Regions from separate parts of the Homo sapiens genome. Here region 1 is linked to region 2. The links are contacts of gene promoters, found by promoter capture Hi-C in human tissues and cell types (Jung and others, 2019). All regions are on one chromosome and are shown on one strand. Each heading gives the region's core, a stretch centred on a gene start or on the middle of the fragment in contact. The rest is flanking DNA. Distances are from core to core; before and after follow the strand shown. Region 1 has its middle 23 kb from the start of APOBEC1. Region 2 holds the start of NECAP1 (NECAP endocytosis associated 1).

Region 1 (4,534 bases), core at 1,469-3,968, 440 kb before region 2:
ATAAAAGCAGGCTGCCCGAGTTGGTAGTAGTAACCCGCTCGGGTGTCTCTCTGCCTTGGTGGGGCTTTGTTCTTTCGCTCTTGGGGTCCATACTACTTTTGTGAATTACAGCACTCACCACGAAAGCTTGCGAGACCACGAGCCTACCGGGAGGAACGAACAACTCCCGACGCGCTGCCTTAAGAGCTGTAACAGTGACCGCAAAGGTCTGCAGCTTTACTCCTGAGCCCGCCAGACCATGAACCCACCAGAAAGAAAAAACTGAACACACCTGCACATCAAAAGGAACAAACTCCAGACGCGCCACCTTAAGAGCTGTAACACTCACCGTGAGGGTCTGCGGCTTCATTTTTGAAGTCAGTGAGACCAAGAACCCACCCATTCCGGACACACCATCACTTAGTTCATCCGCTCCCATGGCTTGGGGGACCATGCTTACAATCGTGGGTGGCACATTTAACAGGGTCCCAGGAACCAGGGAAGGAAAACAGGACACTCCACTGTGTTATTCTCCGTCGGGGGTCATAGGGAATCAAAGTAGATTAAAAGGACACTTTTATTGCTTTTCTTTCTAGATGGGTAACAGATTATCTTCAGTTTGTGCCCCTCTGGCGTGCACTCTGAAACACTGAAACTTTCTTAGCCTCAGGACATTAAAGAGAAGAGCAACTCATTTTATTTTGCACAAGGGCATGGTATTTTTACTGAAACTTTGCAAGCAGTGTAAGATCAACCCAGCTCTTTTAGGAATCATATCAGGCACGCTCACTGAAAATAATTCCCCAAAATTAGAAAAGCAACTTCCAGAGGAGCCATCTGAAGATCCCCCTTCTTTGGGGGCCCCTTCAAGTTCCCTTCTCGTTACAGCCCCTTAGGCCTGTAATAAAGGGAGACTTAGCCAATTTTCTCACAACCCTGATAGGTATATAAAAGCTTTCCAGGCTGGGCGCAGTGGCTCACGCCTGTAATCCCAACACTTTGGGAGGCTGAGGCGGGCAGATCACGAGGTCAAGAGATTGAGACCATCCTGGTCAACATGGTGAAACCCCGTCTCTACTAAAAATACAAAAATTAGTTGGGCGTTGTGGCATGTGCCTGTAATCTCAGCTACTTGGGAGGCTGAGGCAGGAGAATCGCTTGCACCCAGGATGTGGAGGTTGCAGTGAGCCAAGATCACGGCACTGAACTCCAGCCTAGCAATAGAGTGAGACTCCGTCTCAAAAAAAAAGCTTTCCAAAATTTAACTCAGGTATTTCACCTCAGATGGAAGGATGTTATGTTGCTCCTAAGTCAGACCCTCACTGCAGCTGAAAAGCAGGCAGCTCTGATTTCAGAGATTAGCAACATATCTCCTATAATACACCAAAAGGGAAGAAAGCAGATAAGGAAAGAGAAGAAATAGCAGAAATGCCATTCCCAATTGGGAGGAAAGCAGTTTCCCTTGACAACCCTAATTGGGACCCCAATAACTCAGGAGATGAAAAGGAAGCTCTTTTTTAAGTGTGCATTAGAGGGCCTACGGAAAACCAGGGCCAAACCTCTCAATTACTCTAAACTGTCCATGATAAACAGCCAGATGAGAATCTTGTAGCCTTTATGGAAAGGCTGAGAGAGGCACTAACAGAACACCCCTCCTTATCCCCTGATTCAGTCGAGGGACAGCTCATCCTAAAGGACAAGTTTATTAGACAGGCAGCTGCCAATATTAAAAGGAAACTACACAAGCAAGCTATAGGACCAGATAGCACCTTAGAGAACTTCCTGAAAGTGGCCACTTTGGTCTTTTGTAATAGGAACCAGGAGGAGGCCCAAAAGAAAGAGACAATGGTCAGAAGGACAGAGACTCTAGCAGCAGCTTTGCAGGCTTGCAAAGTCCAGGATCCCGGAGGTGCATCTGCTAGTTGCTATCAGTGTGGCAGGCCAGAGCATGTTAAGAAAGAATGCCCATACAGCAAGACAAAGCCACCTCAACCCTCTCCAGCCTGTGGCAGAGACAACAGGAGATGGAACTGCCCCCAGAGGTGGAGGTCACTGGGTTCAGAACCAGTCTTACTGATGATCCAGCAGAACTGGATCCCGGGGCTCAAACTCCAGCTCCAGCGGCTCAAACTGCCATTACAGCACAGGAGCTCTGAGTGATTCTGGAAATTAAAAGAAGGAAAGTAGACCTCTTTCTAAACACTCAGCCAGTCTCTCTTTTTTCTCCTCTCTAATCCAGGCCTCCCCTCTTCCCATAGCACAACCAGAAGGGGCATCTCAGGAAAAACTCTACTCCAGTATTTTTCTCAACCTTAGTTGACACGTGCTTCCAAGCCATTATCATGACAGCTCGCTAATCAGAAAAGCCTCCAAGTTAACCCTAGGAAATAATTTAACTGTTTACACCCCACATAATGTGGCAGGATTACTGTCCTCTAGGGGGAGCTCTTAGCCAACAAACCGCCAGTAAAGCAAGAAGTACATAAGGCAGGATAAGCAGTAGTCACTCTAAATAACGTCTCTCCCCAGGCACAAGCGCTCAATTAGCTGAGCTAACAGCTTTTACAAGCACACTTGGATTAAGCAAGGGAAAGGTAGCTAACATTTATACTAACTCCAAGTATGCTTTCTTGGTTCTCCATGCTCATGCTGCCATTTGAAAGAAAAGACATTTTCGGCCAGGCGGTGGCTCACGCCTGTAATCCCAACACTTTGGGAGGCCAGACGGGCGGATCACGAGGTCAGGGGATCAAGACCATCCTGGCTAACATGGTGAAACCCCGTCTCTACTAAAAATACAAAAAATTAGCCAGGCGTGGTGGCAGGCGCCTGTAGTCCCACCTACCTGGGAGGCTGAGACACGAGAATGGCGTGAACCTGGGAGGTGGAGGTTGCAGTGAGCCGAGATCGCGCCACTGCAGTCCAGCCTGGGCGACGGAGCGAGACTTCGTCTCAAAAAGAAAGAAAGAAAGAAAAGACATTTTCTTACCATTAATAGATCCCCTATAAAAATATCACCAGGAAATTAGCAGGTTATCTTCAGTTTTTCTTCCACAAGAAATAGCAGGAATGCATTGTAAGGAACATCAAAAGGGAACAAATGAGGTAGCCAAAGGAAATAGGTTAGCTGATCAGGCAGTTAAGTCAGAGGCAAGGAAGCCTCAAGCCGTTAAGGCACTTAAGCCCCTTCTAATCTAGGAAGGCTCCATAAGAAAAATTAAACCTCAGTATTTCCCTGCAGAAATAAAATAGGCCACTTCTCGAGGACGTAGTTCCCAGCCCTCAGAAAGGCTACAGTCAGAGGATGGCAAACTCCATTTGCCAGCCTCCAGCCAATGTCCTTAAAATCCTTCACCAAGCTTTTCACTTGGGAAAGGATAAAACTTATCAGTGTGCTCAGAGATTGTTTTCAGGCAGGAAACCTCTAAATTGGTTAAGCATGTAACCTCTCTAGCTCACTTCCAACAAGAATTAACGCAACTAACAGAAGTCCAACCCCAGGAAACAGAACCACCTTTATTTAACCCAGGAAATTTGGTGTTAGTGAAAACCCTCATCTCTGTCTCCTTCCCTAAGCCAAGCTGGGAAAGGCCCTACACTGTTCTTCTTTCAACACCATTGGCAGTAAAAGTTACAGGAATCAACTCCTGACTTCCACATTCAAGTCAAAGCCTGAACAGCTGAGGGATCAACCTCTGACAGCCCAGAGGCACGTCCTGAATATCAATGTGGAGAAATAGAAGATCTTAAACTGAAAATCATAAAAGATAAGTAACTGAGTGAGGGCTACTCCTACCTCATCGGGTACTTTTTATTATTTCTGCCTTTCCTCTCAAAATCTGCCACCAAATATTAAAATTCCTTTTAAGGCATATTTGCAGCGAGATTTAATTATACATGGGATTGCATTTGTAACTTTGTAGATCCCCAAAGGGAAATGTTATATCTAGGCAAGTAAAGACTTAAACGAAAATTATTTACTATGCCACTCTTGTGGGAAATGTTATAGTTACACCACTATTTGCGATGGAACTATACACCGTGGCACCCACAATGCGGAATTTTGGTTGTAAAATTCTAATTGTTATAATATTTTGCCTGATTATCTTCCTTATCTTAGGATTAATAATTGCAGGAAAGATTTAGTCAAGGTTATTTTGCTTATAGCAGGAGTGATAGTTATGGATAAGAAGCAAGCATAAGGCCGGGCGCGATGGCTCATGCCTGTAATCTCAGCACTTTGGGAGGCCGAGGCAGGTGGATCACCTGAGGTCGGGAGTTCGAGACCAGCCTGACCAACATGAAGAAACCCCATCTCTACTAAAAAATACAAAATTAGACAGGTGTGGTGGCGCATGCCTGTAATCCCAGCTACTCGGGAGGCTGAGGCAGGAGAATTGCTTGAACCTGGGAGGAGGAGGTTGTGGTGAGCTGAGATCGTGCCATTGCGCTCCAGCTTGGACAACAAGAGCGAAACTCCATATCAAAAAAAGAAAAAAAGCAAGCATGAAAGTATAAAAGTTTTACTATCATTAAGTTTGATATGACTTTTTAC
Region 2 (4,582 bases), core at 1,102-3,601:
TTGCTTTTGGAGAATGATGGAGGGAGATGGTTGGAATATATAAGACTGGAGTCTTTTGGGTTGGCTGTGATGGAAAGACAAAGAGGAAAGGAAACTTAAGGATGCTGGCAAGAGAACTGTTGAAACAAGGAGATGGGAGGAATAAAGAGAAGGCTAACAATGTGCAGAACATGAAGAAGAACAGGTGAGGTAGAAAAGAGAGGTAAAGATAGTTAGAATTTATGTCAAGAGATTGTATGGCTAGGAAGAGTTAACTATATGGGCTTTGAAATCTCTAAAAGATTTGGGAGAAGAGGAAGAGTATAAACTAGTAAGAAGGTGAACCAGAAGCCAGAATCCTCCAAAAATGATTGCCAGTGATAACACAGAACAGAGAAAAAAAAAGAGGTACAATGTGGTGTAGTCATATGACCTAGGCTTCAGATGAGATCATAGGGTCAGAAATAAGGAACAACAAGTAATAAACCACTTTTCTGTCTTTATTTTTCTTTTAACATGTATTCAGTGACAATAATAGCTATATAAATCTTAAACAACAGAGAAATATATGGAGGAGAAAATAAGTTTCTTTCCCCCACTTAGCCTTATATCCTTTGAAAGCCTTCTCAATGCATTTACATGCATGCATATATAATTTTGGGGTGTTTCGACAAAAGTTGATAATGCTGTATGTTTTTTGCAGTTGGCTTTAAAAAATCTTGGATCTCTTTCAATGGCTAACCCTTTAGTTCAAAACATCTCATAGTAATAGATATACCATTAACCATTTCCCATTGATAGATGGTCATTTTGTTTCCATTTTTTTCACTATTACAAACAATGCTGTAGTATTATTGTACATACTTTTTTGTGCATATAAGGATTTCTCTACAATATTTATTAGTGAAACTGCTAAATTGAAGATTACGTCCAATTAATATTTTGATAAATTCTGTTAATTTCCCTTTTAAAAATGCCGTGCCAATTTACATTCCTGCCAACAGTGTATGAGATTAGACTGTTCCTCACGTCCTCGCCAGGGATAAATGTGGTAATTCTTTTTGAAATTTAAGATATCACTTTCCAAGGTGGAGCAGACAAATTAGAGGCAGGTTTGCTTTTTTTTTTTTTCTCATTAAACTTTTTTAATGGGTCTCAAAATTCTGTGACAAATTTTTGGATGTTTCCATTAAAAAGTACTGATTTAAAAAACTAATAACTTAAAACTGCCACACGCAAAAAAGAAAACCAGTGGTCCACAAAACATTCTCCTTTCCTTCTGAAGAAGAAAACCAGTGGTCCACAAAACATTCTCCTTTCCTTCTGAAGGTTTTACGATGCATTGTTTTCATTAACCAGTCTTTTACTACTGAACTTAAATGGCCAGTTGAAACAAACAGTTCTGAGACCGTTCTTCCACCACTGATTAAGAGTGGGGTGGCAGGTATTAGGGATGATATTCATCTAGCCTTCTGAGCTTTCTGGGCAGACTTGGTGACCTTGCCAGCTCCAGCAGCGGTGAAGACTGCTGCTGTTGTAATGAGGCAGGCTTGAGTTTCTGTCTCAGTTTTGCCACTTGCTATCTGTACTGTCAGGGTGTTGTGGTTAAGTTTACCTTTGGGGCGCAGAAAAAGCATATTTATGGTGAGAGTTCGGTAGCATTTATCATTATAATAGAACTGGGAGCTAATATAGGCCATTAGATAGTTCATTATGCTTCCGATTTTATCAGGAATTGGGTTGATCCCACGTATAGTCTATTTAACAGGATCAAATTTTCCAAAAAGATAATCGGAATACACGCCGAAAGTGTGGCAAAACATTTTAACAGGTGTCGTCCTGAAAAATCGGAGATAAAGAGTGTAAGGCACTAAATCAAGTTGGGTGTTTTCAGCGTTTAGACTCTGGAGAGTTGAAATCCACGGTGTCTATGACCAGATCATACATCATTCTCTGCAGGTACCTCGTCTGGGACTACCGGCTGGAGGTTGCCTCTTTTCTGCCAGGAGACTACAGTTAGGAAGTGACTCCTGTAAGAAAATCCGTCACGATTCAATATGGTCCTCGTCCTCGTAGGACACTCCAGGCACCTGCCTAGAGTAAGATGGCGCTTTTCGTAAGCACCTCTCCAGGACAGAGATTTCCATAACGAGAGTCACGCACTTGCAGGCCATCTTTGCCATTATCCAAGACGGTGAGCCGTGCAGCCTCATCGTTTCCAGGTTTCAATATGGCTCCCCGCGTCACCGAAAAGGTTAATCTCAGAAACTAACTTGAACTCGCGCGGAAGTGACGCAACAGAAGTTGTCGCGCTTTGCATCTCCGCCTCCCGTGCTCCGCCTCCGGTCTTACGTTTCGCCCCCGGCAGCGCCGACAGCGGACCCAAGATGGCGACCGAGTTGGAGTACGAGTCTGTGCTGTGTGTGAAGCCAGACGTCAGCGTCTACCGGATTCCGCCCCGGGCCTCCAACCGCGGTTACAGGTACTAACCCCGAGGCGCTGCCGCACACGCGTACTCTGTCGCAGATGACAGCTTCCTTCTCAGCTAGCACGCTGTCCGTCCCTGCCACTACTACCTCTGTATTGTCACCTTGCTAGCCTCCCTACCTGGGTTGTCATCTCCCTGACCACCTGCTCCATCTCCACTCTGGACTGTCATCACCATATTTCTGCCGTTTTTTTTTTTGTTTTGTTTTTTATTAAATTACCACTCTGCGTTATTCCACTCTGCCTCTCCCGTAATCCCCTGGGGCACCCATCTGCTCCCCATCATGCACTTTCAGTCGTGCTTGCTCCATTGCCAGTCCCCTTTCATTCGCTCTTCCCTGCGTCCTTCAGCTTATCATCCTCATCCTTTCTCTCTCTCTCTCTCTCACACACACACACACACACACACACACACACACACACACACACCTTTCCAGTTCCCCATGCACATTTATGGGTAATCGTGTTGCTTGCCACTCTGGATTATCTGATTTATTTTTTGTACTGTTGTCAATTTCGTCACCAACTGTCATCATCCACCATTCGGTTTTTCCTTCAGCAGTTTTACCAGTGAGCAAAGGTTATGATCATAAGCTTTACAACGGTTGTTCATTCTGTTTCTTCTCATTGTATTTTCTTGATGATTATATAGTATTTTCTGTCTTCCTTCCCTACCTCCCTTCTTAACCTCTCCTACACCTTTTCCCTCCAAAGTTGAGGCAGCATTTTTCTCTGTTGGGCCTAACTACCTACCTTGTAATCCAATGACTGTGAGGTTCTGAGGATGCTATAGGACATTATGTAGTTGAAAGACAGTTCACTGGGCTTCATGTTAAACCATATGAGTGTGAGCCCTTTCCAAGCCTCAATTTTCTCATCTGTAAAATAGAAAAAAAAACCTGTTAGTGATGATACCTGCGCTCTTATAATGTGCTTAACAAGGGTTTTTGGGAGAGTAAAATTAAATCATATAATGGATGTGAAAGAATGTAGGAAATGCAATAAAGCAGTTACAAATACTATTTGTTTGTTCTTTTTTTTTTTTTTTTTTTTTTTTTTGAGATGTAGTCTCACTTTGTTGCCCAGGCCGGAGCGCAATGGCTCAATCTCAGCTCACTGCAACCTCCGCCTCCTGGGTTCAAGCGATTCTCCTGCTTCAGCTTCCTGAATAGTTGGGATTACACGCATGCACCACCACACCTGGCTAATTTTTGTATTTTGAGTAGAGATGGGGTTTCACCAAGTTGGCCAGGCTGGTCTTGAACTCCTGACCTTGTGATCTGCCCACCTTGGCCTCCCATAGTACTGGGATTACAGGCGTGACACCACGCCCAGCCGTCGTTTTTTTTTTTTTTTTTTTTTGTTAGAGAGGCAGGGTCTCGTTCTATCATCCAGGCTGGAGTGCAAGTGGTGCAATCACAGCTCACGGCAGCTGTGTACTCCTGGGCACAAGGGATCCTCCTACCTCAGCCTCCCAAGTTGCTAGGGCTACAGGCATTGCCTCACAATGCCTGGCTAATTTTTAAATTTTTTTGTGTAGACAGGATCTTGATATATTTCCCAGGCTGGTCTCGAACTCCTGGCCTTAAGTGATTCTCCTGCCACAGCCTCCCAAAGTGTTGAAATTACAGGTGTGGGCCACTGCACCTGGCCAAGATACTGTTCTTATTCTTCTCTCTGACCCACATCATCATTGTGATTTTTCCTCCTGGCATTTATCATTACCTTGGCTGAAAAGTTACCCTCTCCTTATGTCTGTTATTTTGCCCCTTACTGGCGTTTTATTCATCATGAATCAATATTTTTATGCTTGCTGACCTGTGCGCTGGGCCCTGTGGGTTGCACCTTTGGCAAAGAGGTAGCAGTTCTGTTTTTAATAAGCTTTTAGTTGGACCCCAAACTGACCCTAAGTAGAAATCAACATGCTTTTAGATGGTAGTTACAGGTACTATATGAGTCACTTAAACATCACCTTCTTTGGGAGGCCCTATGTGACCCTTCCATTCTGGTTTAGATATGCACCCTGTGTGCTTCCATAGCACCTTTTTCTTTTTCTTTTTTACTTTAAGTTCTGGGATACATGTGCAGAATGTGCAGGTTTGTTACATAGGTATGC

The links. Contacts are between HindIII fragments. The study calls those that stand out against the background at their distance.
Region 1: a fragment that was not itself captured here is called in contact with the fragment with the promoter of NECAP1 in region 2 in 4 of the 25 tissues and cell types used here (H1 embryonic stem cells, hippocampus, mesendoderm cells and 1 more).

Annotation. Positions count from the first base shown.
Region 1 is chr12:7,640,627-7,645,160 of GRCh38, forward strand. No RefSeq gene overlaps it. Among named protein-coding and RNA genes, the nearest start is that of APOBEC1, 23 kb to the right of the region's middle. The HindIII fragment of the contact is 4,378 bases long and covers 530-4,534 here.
Region 2 is chr12:8,079,923-8,084,504 of GRCh38, forward strand. NECAP1 (NECAP endocytosis associated 1) reads left to right here and starts at 2,352. Exons shown (of 8, transcript NM_015509.4): 1 at 2,352-2,461. The coding sequence starts at 2,367. RefSeq lists enhancers at 1,614-2,813, 2,245-2,464, 2,535-2,594. The HindIII fragment of the contact is 7,640 bases long and covers 1-3,703 here.